Linked DNA regions of Homo sapiens: region 2 is linked to region 1. The links are contacts of gene promoters, found by promoter capture Hi-C in human tissues and cell types (Jung and others, 2019). All regions are on one chromosome and are shown on one strand. Each heading gives the region's core, a stretch centred on a gene start or on the middle of the fragment in contact. The rest is flanking DNA. Distances are from core to core; before and after follow the strand shown.

What was found. Contacts are between HindIII fragments. The study calls those that stand out against the background at their distance.
Region 2: a contact is called between a fragment that was not itself captured here and the fragment with the promoter of VSTM2B in region 1, in 1 of the 25 tissues and cell types used here (dorsolateral prefrontal cortex).

Annotation. Positions count from the first base shown.
Region 1 is chr19:29,524,647-29,527,546 of GRCh38, forward strand. VSTM2B (V-set and transmembrane domain containing 2B) reads left to right here and starts at 1,348. Exons shown (of 5, transcript NM_001146339.2): 1 at 1,348-2,019; 2 at 2,565-2,749. The coding sequence starts at 1,938. It overlaps VSTM2B-DT (VSTM2B divergent transcript), which reads right to left and starts at 1,104. Exons shown (of 10, transcript NR_040029.2): 1 at 778-1,104. The region is part of intron 1 of LOC124904683 (a long non-coding RNA gene); the gene reads right to left. The HindIII fragment of the contact is 17,468 bases long and covers 1-2,900 here.
Region 2 is chr19:28,863,661-28,867,006 of GRCh38, forward strand. No RefSeq gene overlaps it. Among named protein-coding and RNA genes, the nearest start is that of LINC00906, 100 kb to the right of the region's middle. The HindIII fragment of the contact is 9,131 bases long and covers 1-3,346 here.

The DNA of each region.
Region 1 (2,900 bases), core at 98-2,597:
AGCCAGGGGGTGGGAGTGACTCCTGGGCCATAGACGAGGAAACTGAAAGGCAGGCACTGGAGGCAAGAAGGGCTGGCCCCGGGCACCCGCTGGCGAGGACAGCCTTGGAGAGGGCCTGCAGCTCCTCCCCTCTGAGCTGTGCTGCGCTGGCCGCCTGGACCAGGGTGGCTGCTGGAGAGTGTTTTCCCTCTGGGTTTCCTTCTCCTTGGCTCCCAGGGAATCCTCTGGCGGTGCCTCCGGGAGGCTGGTAGCCGGGGAAGCAGGCACGTGAATCCACCGGGCTGCCCCACCCCAACCTGAGGTCAGAGCTGAGGCGTAGGGGCCGGGGTAGGGGCAGAGGTGCCGAAACGCACTAGCTGGGGACTCCCGGGGGAAGGAGATAGGAGAGACCCAAGGCGAGCCTTAGGACTCGCCCCTATGACTATGACTACGCGCTGCGTCCGAACCACATGTCCACCCCGCATTTGCCTTCGGGGACCAGACCGCGCTCCCTCAGATGGCTGGGGAGGGAGCAGACTCCGGGTGAAGGCTGGGGGAGGTACCGGGATGCCGAGTACGCCAGAGCAGGCGGGGGATGGGTTCCGGCTTCCTGCCGCCTCGGCATCTCGCTTTGCACCGGGCAAAGAAGGGGCCACGACCGGCGAAGAGCGCGTGGAGACACAGGGACCCGCGATCCAGGGGCAGGAACCCCGCCCCCTCCCGGAAACCTCCCGGGCCCTGAGTCGTGCCCGGCGCTCCCCACCCCACCCCACCCCCGCCGCCCCTGCCGTCACTCACGGCCGCTGCGGGCTGGCTAGCGTGTGCGCTCTCCGCGCCGCAGGCACCTGCTCGCTGGGCGCTGTGCGCTCACTTCTCCCTCGCGCACTGCAGACTCCCGGCGCTGCCGCCGCCACCCAGCGTAGTCTCCGGCTGGGCACAGCGTTCCGCCCTTCTCGCGGCCCCGGGCGCCCACCCATCCGTCATGGCCCAGGCCTGGGCCAAACAGCGGGGCAGCTGGTTGCCCAAACTGGGGTAAGGAGTTGAGGGCTGGGAGCTGCAGAGAGGACCGAGGGACACACGGGGAGCAGGGATGAGCGGCCGTCTCGAGCCGTGCAGACTGGGAAGAAGCCAGGGAGAGTTTGGGTGGGAGGACTCCCAACCCAAGCGGGTGCGGGGCGGGGCTGTACTCCAACCAGAAAGACGGTGGTCCCTCCGAGCGACCCCCGAGGAGAGAGGGGGAGCGCTCTGGGGCGGGGGCGGGGCGGGCTGTGGCAGGAGAGGGGAGGGCGGGGGCGATGCAGCGGTGGAGGCGGCTTGGCGCCCAGCCACTGACCGCCCCCTCCCTTCCCCTCCCCTCCCCCTCTCCCCGCCTCTCTCCGGCTCCGGGTCCGCCACGCCGGACCCGCTCTCCCCGCGCTGCGCTGGGTCGGACGCCAGGTCTGCGCGCCGCGGCTGAGCGCCCACTCGCCCTGCGGAAAGAGCCGCGGAGGAACCGGCGGGGGCGGCTGCGGGAGCCGAAGGAGGTGGCAATCGGGAGCAGAACCAGAAGGAGACAGGGAGGCAGAAGCTCGCGGCTCCGTGGCACGCACTCCCTCGGCCAGGGATGGGTCCCGGCGCGGCCCAGCCCCTGCCCGGCCCGCCGGGCAGAGACTGAACCGCGGATCCCCACCGTCCTGTGGACGACCGGACAGAGAGAGGCACTGACCGATCGCCAGCAGCCTCCCGGTGGGACCGCGTCTCCTGCACACCCCGCGCAGCGCCCCCCGCCGGAGCCGCACCGGGCAAGCCGGCGAGGGAGCGGGGCTGATTGGCGGCCGCCGGCGGCCAGGGGAGGGGGCGCCGCGCGGGGCCATGGCAGGCTCGGAGGCGTCCTAGCCCGAGCCGGAGCCGATCCGAGCCCACGCGGCCGCCGCCTCTCCGCTCCCGGGCCCCCGCCGCCACCGCGCCCCCCGCGGGAGATGGAACAGCGGAACCGGCTCGGTGCCCTCGGATACCTGCCGCCTCTGCTGCTGCATGCCCTGCTGCTCTTCGTGGCCGACGGTGAGCGCGGGAACTTTGCTGCCGCTGTGGACTCGGGGGGGTCTTTGCTGGGGCCGCCACCGAGAAGAAGAAGAAAGAGAACGAACCGGGAAGCTTCGCGGTCTCCAGCAATCCCGCTGTGCAGCCTGGGCCCGGAGGGGTAGGGAGAGGCGAGCGGCGAAGGGTCGCCGCAGCAGCAGCGCCGCGCCCGAGTCGTTCCCAGTCCCGCCGGGGCCCCGGCTGCGGAAAGGATGCCTGCGGGGAGCGGGAGTAGGCGCGCCCCAGCCAGGCTCTGGCGGTGCGGCCAGGGGCGGGGGAGAAGCACGAGTCGCCCCTGCCGCCCCGCCCCATCCGGAGGGAAGCAGTAGGCAGCCGATGGCCGGTCCCTGCCTCGGCCCTGCAGCCGCTTCCCCGAACTTTGCTAGCCCCTCCGGCCGTGCGCCAGGGAGCAGCTGCGGGGTGGGGGGCACAAGGCCAGCCAGCCAGAGACCGACTGCCTCGCTTTAGGTTGCCCCAGGCCCCCGACCTACAGCTGGTCACGCCTCTCTCTCTCTCCCCACCCCCAGCTGCATTCACAGAAGTCCCCAAAGATGTGACAGTACGGGAGGGAGACGACATCGAAATGCCCTGCGCGTTCCGGGCCAGCGGAGCCACCTCGTATTCGCTGGAGATTCAGTGGTGGTACCTCAAGGAGCCACCCCGGGAGCTGCTGCACGAGCTGGCGCTCAGCGTGCCGGGCGCCCGGAGCAAGGTAACCCGCCGCCCACGCGGTACCGGCGCGCGCCCGGCTCGCGCCCGGGGCGGCGAAGGCTAACCCAGGGAGGGAAGCAGCGGGCTTCACTCGCGCAGGGCGCCGCCCTGTGGCGCAGCCCATCTTCCACCTTCGCATCCCAAAGCATCTT
Region 2 (3,346 bases), core at 272-2,771, 660 kb before region 1:
GCAGCCATGGCTCCTTTCACAGTGCGCTGCCGGCTCTGGGGATGCTGTTTGGCTGTGTCCTTCAGCCTGAAAAATAGCTCTGAGTGATAAGCCCTCCTGCCCGATTTCTTGCAGTTGACAAACAATGCTGCCTTGAAAACAGCTAATTTCGAAAGGAGAGAATTATACAGGGATGTGTTTCCTCCCTCAGAGCATTCTGGGAAAAGCCATGGCACCACTGCTTACCTAACAGGTTGAGGCAACAGGGAATACAGGTGGGGGGCTTGGGGGAATGGCTGTGATCAGTGCTGCCAATTCCCAGCTGCCGGGCTGCACTCCACCCCAAACTGCACACCCAGTACGTGGTGCTGTGCCCCAGAGAAAGTGCCCACATAACACCACAGACACCTTTCCCCATCCATTTGGCCCATATCTCTGGAGTGTGAGCTCTGCGTCAGGCAGTGGGCTAGGCGCAGAAACAGAATGGTACGGCCCTCGTCCCTGGGCAGCTCACAGACGAGACAGGCACTTAAATCAAGGCAGCACATGATTCACTGCTATGAGGGAGAGACAGACAGGTGCGTCACACAGGCTCTCCCCTGCAAGAGTCTAAACTCCTCAAAGCAAACACCTACTCTCTACATCTGTGCATGAGTAACGAGAGCTGAGGGCACAATAGACGGCCAACAAAAATCTGTCAATTAAAAATGCAGTGAGCAACAATGCAAGGGACTCCAAATTTAGAAACCACAATGCAAACAGTCACCAGATAAAGAATCATTTATAAAAAGAACCTTTACAAGTTTCAAGTACTTGAGATGTGGTCCCTGTAAATCCCCACCACCCTCACATGGTGTTTAAAAACAAAAGAGATACTGGTGGCATCCACAGCCTTCCAGAGCCTGGAAACTGGGAAATAAAGTTGCCCTTCCTGGTGGGGAGTCAAGGCCATGGTGAGATTTAGTGAAAATTCATACAAATTGTCTTGCTGTGAGACAAGGAATTAGCCCTTCTGGGGAGAGCTGTGCCTCCTTAAGGGCTTTAAAACAAAAACAAAAAACTGGGGTCAGAATAGTGGTAGCAACCAAGACACTCTGGAGGTGACTGTGGCTCCAAAGCACGGCGGGGAGACCAGCGGGTGGGGAATGACCTTCTGGCTGGGTTGGGTCCAAGCCTGCTTATTTCCTAGGACTCCGTGCAGGTCATTCCAGCTACGAGCTTTGGGCACATTTCCAAAGCTGATATCTTTGTGGCGGCTTGGGAAAGAGGCCAGGCTCTTGGGCCTCCTCTGCCAAAACAAGGTTGTAAAATGAGTCTGCTGGTTTCATACTGGGATGAGAAGAGGAGCGTGCAGGACGTAAAAAAAAAAAACAAAAAAAAATTAAAACTCTGAAGAACGTTGAAGAATTGAGCAATTACAAACATACGAATGGATGCATTAGGAATGACAGTCATAATTATTCCCTGAATTTATACAACCTAGACCACTTTGCATTTCACACATATTATCTCATTAATTCTCATTTTAATAGTTTAAAATTGAGTTTGTGTGCATGTGAGTTTTCCTGGAAGCTTCATAACCATGGTGGGTGATTTTCACAGGACCACGGAAGCCTTTGCAGAGGTTTTATAAAGATTAGTCCTAATTCATGAAGCAAACAAACATCACAGAGGGAAAAACATTAACCTACTGCTCCCTGTCCCCAGAAATCCATGTTGCCCCTCGGGGTTCCCGCAGGCTCTGCTTGGACTTGCCTTCCCCAAGACCCCAACTCCCATGCCAGGGCTGTGCATCTGCTTCTCACATCCTCAGGAACCCCAGCAAGACCCACGCCTTGTCATTTATTTCTGAGCCTCTGTGGCCTAGTCCAATGCTCGTTAAATCTACACATTAATAGGTAATAAGTGAGTGAACACAAATGTGATGAATGCTGTGGTGAGTGAACACTAATGTAATGAATGCTGTGGTATAAGTGAGTGGACACTAACATTGTGAATGCTGTGGTGTAACAAGAAATCTACTTGTGATCTTTTTCCAGTTCTTGTCTTAGAGCTCCTAAGACCCTTGAAAATTTCTGAGTGATAGGTGCATCTTTTCTTTTTCATAATCAGCCCCTTTCCATGACACCTGAATTTATGCTAATGAAGGACTTCTAGGGCCCCTAGATCTTCTCAGGATGGGGCTGGTCCCCAGATAGGCCAAATGAGTTGAACTCTCAGCCCCTTGAAGACCTCTGGGAAGGAGTAGGGGGCAGGCTGGAAACTAGGCTCTGTAAAAACTCTTCAGCAACAAGATTTGATGAACTTCTGGGTTGCTGAACCCTTGGAGGTGCTGAGAGGGGGGCACACCCAGAAAGGGCATGGAGGCTCCACCCCAAACCTTACCTTGTGACTCTCCTCCTCTGGCTGTCCATCTGTGTCCATGATGACATCCTTTATAATAAAATGGTAAACATGCTTCCGTGAGTTCTGTGAGCCATCCTAGCAAATTAAGCAAACCCAAGGGAGTGGTGGGAATCCCAACTTACAGCTGATGGGTCAGACGCATAGATGGCAACTTACTACTTGTAATTGGTATCTGAAGTGGGGGCAGCCTTCTGAGACTGAGCCCTTAGACTGTGGGATCTGAGTCTAACTCCAGGTAGAAGGAGTCAGCATAGAATTAAAATACAGGACACCCAGTTGGTGTCTGCTGGAGAATTGCTCGGTGTGTGGGAGGACACCCATGCATCTGGCCACCGAAGTGGTCTGCATTGAGTGTGAGAGTAGAGGAAAAGAGAACTTTGATTTTTCCTTGACAAATGCCCTTGCCATATTTTCTTCGTTAGGCAGTTTTTTTTACCTTTGAGGTGCTTAAGCCACACAGTCTCAGCTAGAATGTCTCCTGAGAGGACTAACCTTGTGTCACGCTTTCCCGTCTGGCTCTTTCTGCATTTGATAAAGTGACTGACGGATGCTAGGTGCTCAATAAACATCTGTTAAGTTAACTCTGACTTTCTCGTGGTTGGAACAGCTATCATCAGAGCACACCAAGAGACAGGTTTAGGAGCCTCCATCCTCTTGTATACGTAAGAGGATCTGAGTGGAGGTTCCCCAGAAGCAGATCTGGAGATGAAGATTTGAGGGCAAGTAGTTTATTTAGATGAAATTAGGAAGAAAAGGGAAAACCACCAGTCAGGTGCAGCTATGGAGCCAGCCACCACCATGGGCGGGTGGAGCTGAATCCCGTGGGGAACTCTGGGAGGGCACACAGAGTTTTCCCAGTTGACGGGCCAGCGAGCTGGGGTATTTCTCCACTGGCCCCTGTAGGTCATTTTTAGGCTACTCCTAAGGGTGCTGATTCTCAATCACTTCAAACCTGGTAGCA